2 separate regions of the Homo sapiens genome follow, and region 1 is linked to region 2. The links are contacts of gene promoters, found by promoter capture Hi-C in blood cells and fetal thymus (Javierre and others, 2016). All regions are on one chromosome and are shown on one strand. The core of a region is centred on a gene start or on the middle of the fragment in contact, and the rest is flanking DNA. Distances in the headings are between cores, read along the strand shown.

Evidence for each region. Contacts are between HindIII fragments. The CHiCAGO score rates a contact against its expected background, and 5 or more counts as called.
Region 1: a contact is called between a fragment that was not itself captured here and the fragment with the promoter of HLX in region 2, in 3 of 17 cell types (fetal thymus, total B cells and naive B cells). The highest score is 9.7, in fetal thymus.

What each region holds. Positions count from the first base shown.
Region 1 is chr1:222,445,876-222,448,575 of GRCh38, forward strand. No RefSeq gene overlaps it. Among named protein-coding and RNA genes, the nearest start is that of TRT-TGT2-1, 18 kb to the right of the region's middle. The HindIII fragment of the contact is 171 bases long and covers 1,184-1,354 here.
Region 2 is chr1:220,878,020-220,880,757 of GRCh38, forward strand. HLX (H2.0 like homeobox) reads left to right here and starts at 1,424. Exons shown (of 4, transcript NM_021958.4): 1 at 1,424-2,430. The coding sequence starts at 1,839. It overlaps HLX-AS1 (HLX antisense RNA 1), which reads right to left and starts at 2,121. Exons shown (of 3, transcript NR_046901.1): 1 at 1,830-2,121. RefSeq lists a silencer at 981-1,030 and an enhancer at 2,149-2,738. The HindIII fragment of the contact is 7,579 bases long and covers 1-2,738 here.

The sequences.
Region 1 (2,700 bases), core at 19-2,518, 1.6 Mb after region 2:
TCCCTCCCTCCTCATGTCCCCTCATCTGTGTTCCTGAGCACCCTATACCCACCTCTGGGACAGTCCATGCACATGGCAGCATGAGTCGTGCATTTATGTAACTATCTTTTCTGCGAAGCTGGGTTCCCCCGAGGCAGGGTCCAAGCCTCAGGCATTGGTAGCTCTCCAATATCATGCCCTGTTCCTGGCATATGGTGGGTCCTCATGTTGGTGGTCACTGTTAAAGCCCAATCATAAAGCCAGATGGAGTGATGTTACCAGGTCTTAGATGTCAGAAGGTCCTTGTGCCTTGACATAGGTCCAGCATAAGCTGTTATAATATACACCAAATACATGGGACCCTCTTAGGTTCCCTTTCCTTTTCCAGACACAAGTCCTTTGACACACGTCAGTGTTGTTCCTGTCGATTCAGTACCCCATCCCCAAGTTCTGACCTGCAGAGGCATGATGAAGCATTTTCATCGCTGTGGTGAATCTTATTAATATCGGCACACAGATTGGCCTATTCATCAGTGCATATAAAAAACTAGCCACAGAAAAGGAAAAACTTGACCATAGGCCAAGGAGTTTGCGGGGCTTATATTTATCCAAATTATTTTGGCATTAATACCATGCTGCAAAGTCTACAAAATCAAAAACGCGGAACTCTGGAAATGAGCAAGGTTAAACTAAGACCCGTTGCTGTAGTTATTTGCAATTACCACTCACTGCCTGAGTCTGCAGTGAGCTGCCCAGCAATAGCCTGTGCTCCCCTGGGATTCTGCCCATGAGGTCCCTGGTGCCACCTGCAGCCTCCCAATGCCATCTCCAGCCTGGGAAAGAGAGTGAGCATAGGCATGGGAGGCATTAACCAGAGAGAGGATGCATACAGTAATGAGATCAAAGTGGAGGTGAGGGCTTGTGCATTCAGGTCTGTGGATCAGGCTGATGATAGCAGACAAAAGTACAGGAAGGATGCTTACTTCTTGACATCAGTCTTCCAATAACGTGGCCAAGAGTCGAAGCTCTGCTCACCACTCACAAACTGTGAACGTTTGGGCAAGTTACTTATCCTCTCTGGGCCAGTCTCCTCATCCGTAAACTTGGAAATCATGGCCCCTGTGTCACAGGGCTGTCATGAGGATCAAGTTAACAATATATAAAAGTGTGTTTGAACAGTGTCTGGGGCATGATATGTGTTACAAGCTTGTTGTTATCTTTATCTGGACTCGGTCCTCCTTTCTGATCACCTTACTAGGTGACATCACATTCAGCTTTTATTCATTCATTCAATAAACACCTACTGAGTGCAGCTAGAGCACACTTTCCTCTGCAGGGCCAAACCCAAACTCTTTCAAGGCCCAACTCTCCATGAAGCTTTTCCAGTTATCCCCCATGGACGTGACCATCCCCTCCTCCTCACTTCATTTTTTCCTCTCTTTTAGCACTTAATCCTTTTAAGTTCAAATCATAGCTTAAAGCTTCCTGAGGACAGAACCAGTGTCTGATTCATTTTTATGTTTCCCACAGCATCATCTCTCACACTGAGTGTGAAGTCATTAAATAGTGTGGAATGAATAAAGGAAAACTTAGGATGAAAAGCAGGAAAAAGCAGCTCTCTGGGCTTCTCATCACCAGAGCCTGTTTTTAAAAGGTAGCTAGGAGACCATAAATTGAACCGTCTACAAAAATTATTTTGTACTTAGTTTATGCACTGCACAAACCAACACATAATTTTTTTAAATGAGAAAACCCAATGTCTTCACCATAGGATCTAATAATCAAGAAAAAGGGAAGAACCCAGTGCCCGTTTGCAGTCCTGAATGCTGCTCCCCCATCCCTGCTCCAGGGTCACCGAGCTTCTAGTGAATCCAAGCACCTAACTGCCACCAGACTCCCTGTGGTTCTGCTGAGGCCTTCCCACTGCCCACAGTGCTGGGGTGAAACCTGCCTTGCCCTCCCTAAAACTCTCACTCTCTCATAAAGCTTACCATCTCATCTCACATTTCACCATGATTTGGGGGCCACAGAATGAATGTCCCCATTTCCTCCACTTTATCCCCATCCTTTTTCCTTCCACCACATCTGAGAAGACCAACCACTCTCCCTTCCAAAGGCCCTCTTTCCTGGGCTCAGGTTATCCTCCCCTGGTTCTGACTTCCCCAATCTTGCTTTCCTCCCTCCAGCCTTTTCCCCTCTTCCACTTATTAGGACAATCTCTACTCCTGCACAAACTTAAGCAGTTTACTTAACCTCAACTATAAAAGCTAAGGTAATTTTTGGTTTAGGTTTTTCTTGATTTTTCAGAAAGACAGGCAGGATCTTGCTCTGTTGCCCAGGCTGGAGTACAGTGGTGCAATCATGGCTCACTGAAGCTTTGAACTCCTGGGCTCAAGCAATCCTCCTGCCTCAGCCTCCCAAAACAATGGGATTACAAGCATAAGCTGCTGTGCCCAGACAAAAACTAAGATAATAATAAAACTCATCTCTCAGATCACACGTGAGAAAGGATTTGCAAAGCAAAGAGCTTACAAAAATGTTAGGCATTTTCATGTCTTCCTGTGGACAGAGATCACCATTTTTAATTCCTCTTTGGATCATCCACAATGTCTTTTAAAGGGTATGGCATATAGTAGGAATTCAATAGATGAGGCACATATTGGCTTAATGAGTAAGCCCTGGTATGAATGAATCAAAACCCGCACATCCATTTCACTGATC
Region 2 (2,738 bases), core at 174-2,673:
TGCATCAAGGGGCTAGAGAAAACACCAGAAATTAATTTTATAAGCCCAAACCCTGAACTCGAGATAGGCATGGCAAGTTCACTTGCTTTTCTGGGTTTATTTGGTGAGGAGCCTTCGTGCTGAAGGGAAATAAAAATGTCACAGAATCCCTGTTAGGAGATGCTTATTAGGGCAATCGAAAACAAAAGTTTTCGTGGTTTCATTATTCGTATTATTTTATTTTCTTCCTGAAAATGTGCAAGAACAGCTCATCTGGGTGGCCTGTGGTTTGTTTGGGAGAGGGGTGGGGAAATTCATTCTGACTATAATTTAAAGAGAAGAAATTCTTAAAATAGATATGTCGATGTTGCACAAAACCTCCACCACCACTACCCTGCGTTCTAAAGACCCAAGGCACGAATGGAAGACGTTGACCACCACGCAGCTCCTCCTGCAACCAGGCCCAAGGGGTTCCTGGGGAAGCTGTCACAGAATTGAAAGCAGTATTGAACCCCACGGAAATCTGCTCTTGTGGGCACTTGCAAAACAACGAACCCCACGTGATCCGGAGATGTGGTGGAGGGGTGAGGCTAACATTTCCTACAACCTCCTGCAAAGGATGGAAGCGCGTGCCGCTCTCCCGGGTTTCGGGAGGCAGCCTGTTTTGTAGCCTCTGAGGCTCCGGGGAAAGGTTTGGCTGCGTCTAAGAGAGACGTTTGGAGCCATCCGTCTTATTTTGTTTGAAAAGTCACTCGTTCAATTTGTCACTGTGTGACAGCTCAGAATAAAACCAATTTGCGGCCGCCCCTCCTCCTCGCTTCCCGGAGGATCTCCTGGGAGGCACGAGGCGGACGCGGTGCTGAGTTGGGCCGGGACTCAGGGCGGCAACATTTGGGCAAGGGCCCAGGAAAGATGAGGGGCTTTGCCGAGGACACGGACTCCTGGAATAAAAGCAGAATGAGGTCAAGAGAAGGGAAGCAAAGGGGCCAAAGCGCGCTCCGCTCTCCACCGGGAGGCGGGCTTTGCAGAGCCCTAAAGAGTGAGATTACCGTCCCTTCCCCACGCCCCCAACTCGCCCCGGGTGACAAGCGCTTCAGGAAAGCTCCTGTGATCAACCCTCCTTGCCCCGTGGCGGTTCGGAGCTGCAGAAGTTAGAAGAGAGTCAGAGCCCTCCGGAGCGGCTGCCTGGCCCCTACGCAGAGTAGCAAGAAGCACTGCGATGTGCGCTACTAAGCCCACGCGGCCGCAGCAAAAACTTTGGCGTGGCCGGGGCGTGGCTAGGGTCCGGCCAGGCCCCCTTGTTCCTAATTCCCCTCCACTCCCCGCTCCCATTGGTCACGAGGATGACCAATGAGCGCTCGGATCGAGGTCCTACCCCGGGCCTGACTCGAAAGCTCCTGCCAAAACTTTGGGAGTTTTTAGAGACGAGTTTTTTTTTTTTTCTATTACTTTTCCCCCCCCCTAACTAACGGACTATTATTGTTGTTGTTTTAAATTTAGCTCTTAGGGCTTAGCTATTTGGGTTTTCTTGCGGTGTCCGGCTCCCGTCTCCCTGGCTCCCCCGCCCGCCCTGCGGCCCCAGCGCCCCTCGCTCTCATCCAGCCCGCGAGGAGTGCGGGCGCCGCGCCGCCTTTAAAGCGAGGCCAGGGAGCGAGGCGGTGACCGGCCGAGATCCGGCCCTCGCCTCCTCCCTCGGTGGCGCTAGGGCTCCCGGCCTCTCTTCCTCAGTGCGGGCGGAGAAGCGAAAGCGGATCGTCCTCGGCTGCCGCCGCCTTCTCCGGGACTCGCGCGCCCCTCCCCGCGCGCCCACCCACCCAGTCCGGCTGGACTGCGGCAGCCGCGCGGCTCACCCCGGCAGGATGTTCGCAGCCGGGCTGGCTCCCTTCTACGCCTCCAACTTCAGCCTCTGGTCGGCCGCTTACTGCTCCTCGGCCGGCCCAGGCGGCTGCTCCTTCCCCTTGGACCCCGCCGCCGTCAAAAAGCCCTCCTTCTGCATCGCAGACATTCTGCACGCCGGCGTGGGGGATCTGGGGGCGGCCCCGGAGGGCCTGGCAGGGGCCTCGGCCGCCGCCCTCACCGCGCACTTGGGCTCGGTTCACCCGCACGCCTCTTTCCAAGCGGCGGCCAGATCCCCGCTTCGACCCACCCCAGTGGTGGCGCCCTCCGAAGTCCCGGCTGGCTTCCCGCAGCGGCTGTCTCCGCTCTCAGCCGCCTACCACCACCATCACCCGCAACAACAACAGCAGCAGCAACAGCCGCAGCAGCAACAGCCTCCGCCTCCGCCCCGGGCTGGCGCCCTGCAGCCCCCGGCCTCGGGGACGCGAGTGGTTCCGAACCCCCACCACAGTGGCTCTGCCCCGGCCCCCTCCAGCAAAGACCTCAAATTTGGAATTGACCGCATTTTATCTGCAGAATTTGACCCAAAAGTCAAAGAAGGCAACACGCTGAGAGGTAGGTCTTGGGCGGGAGGCTGCAGGCCTCTGACCACTGACCCACTCCCCGGACCCCGGGCTGGCTTGGGGTGCCTTTGAGTGTTTTTACAATTAAGGACAAATCGGTAAAACGGGAGAGAAGAAAACGAATTGTAAGAAAACTACAAAACATTAGGTCTAAAACTCACCTGTTCTATGTAAAACAAACAAAAAATGACTCCAGGGATTCTTTAAAAACACGTCTTAGAATCAATATTTATAAAAGTGGTTGGTGTAATTATCTGCTAACATGACTTTGATCTCTTTAATAATGTATCTAGAGACAGA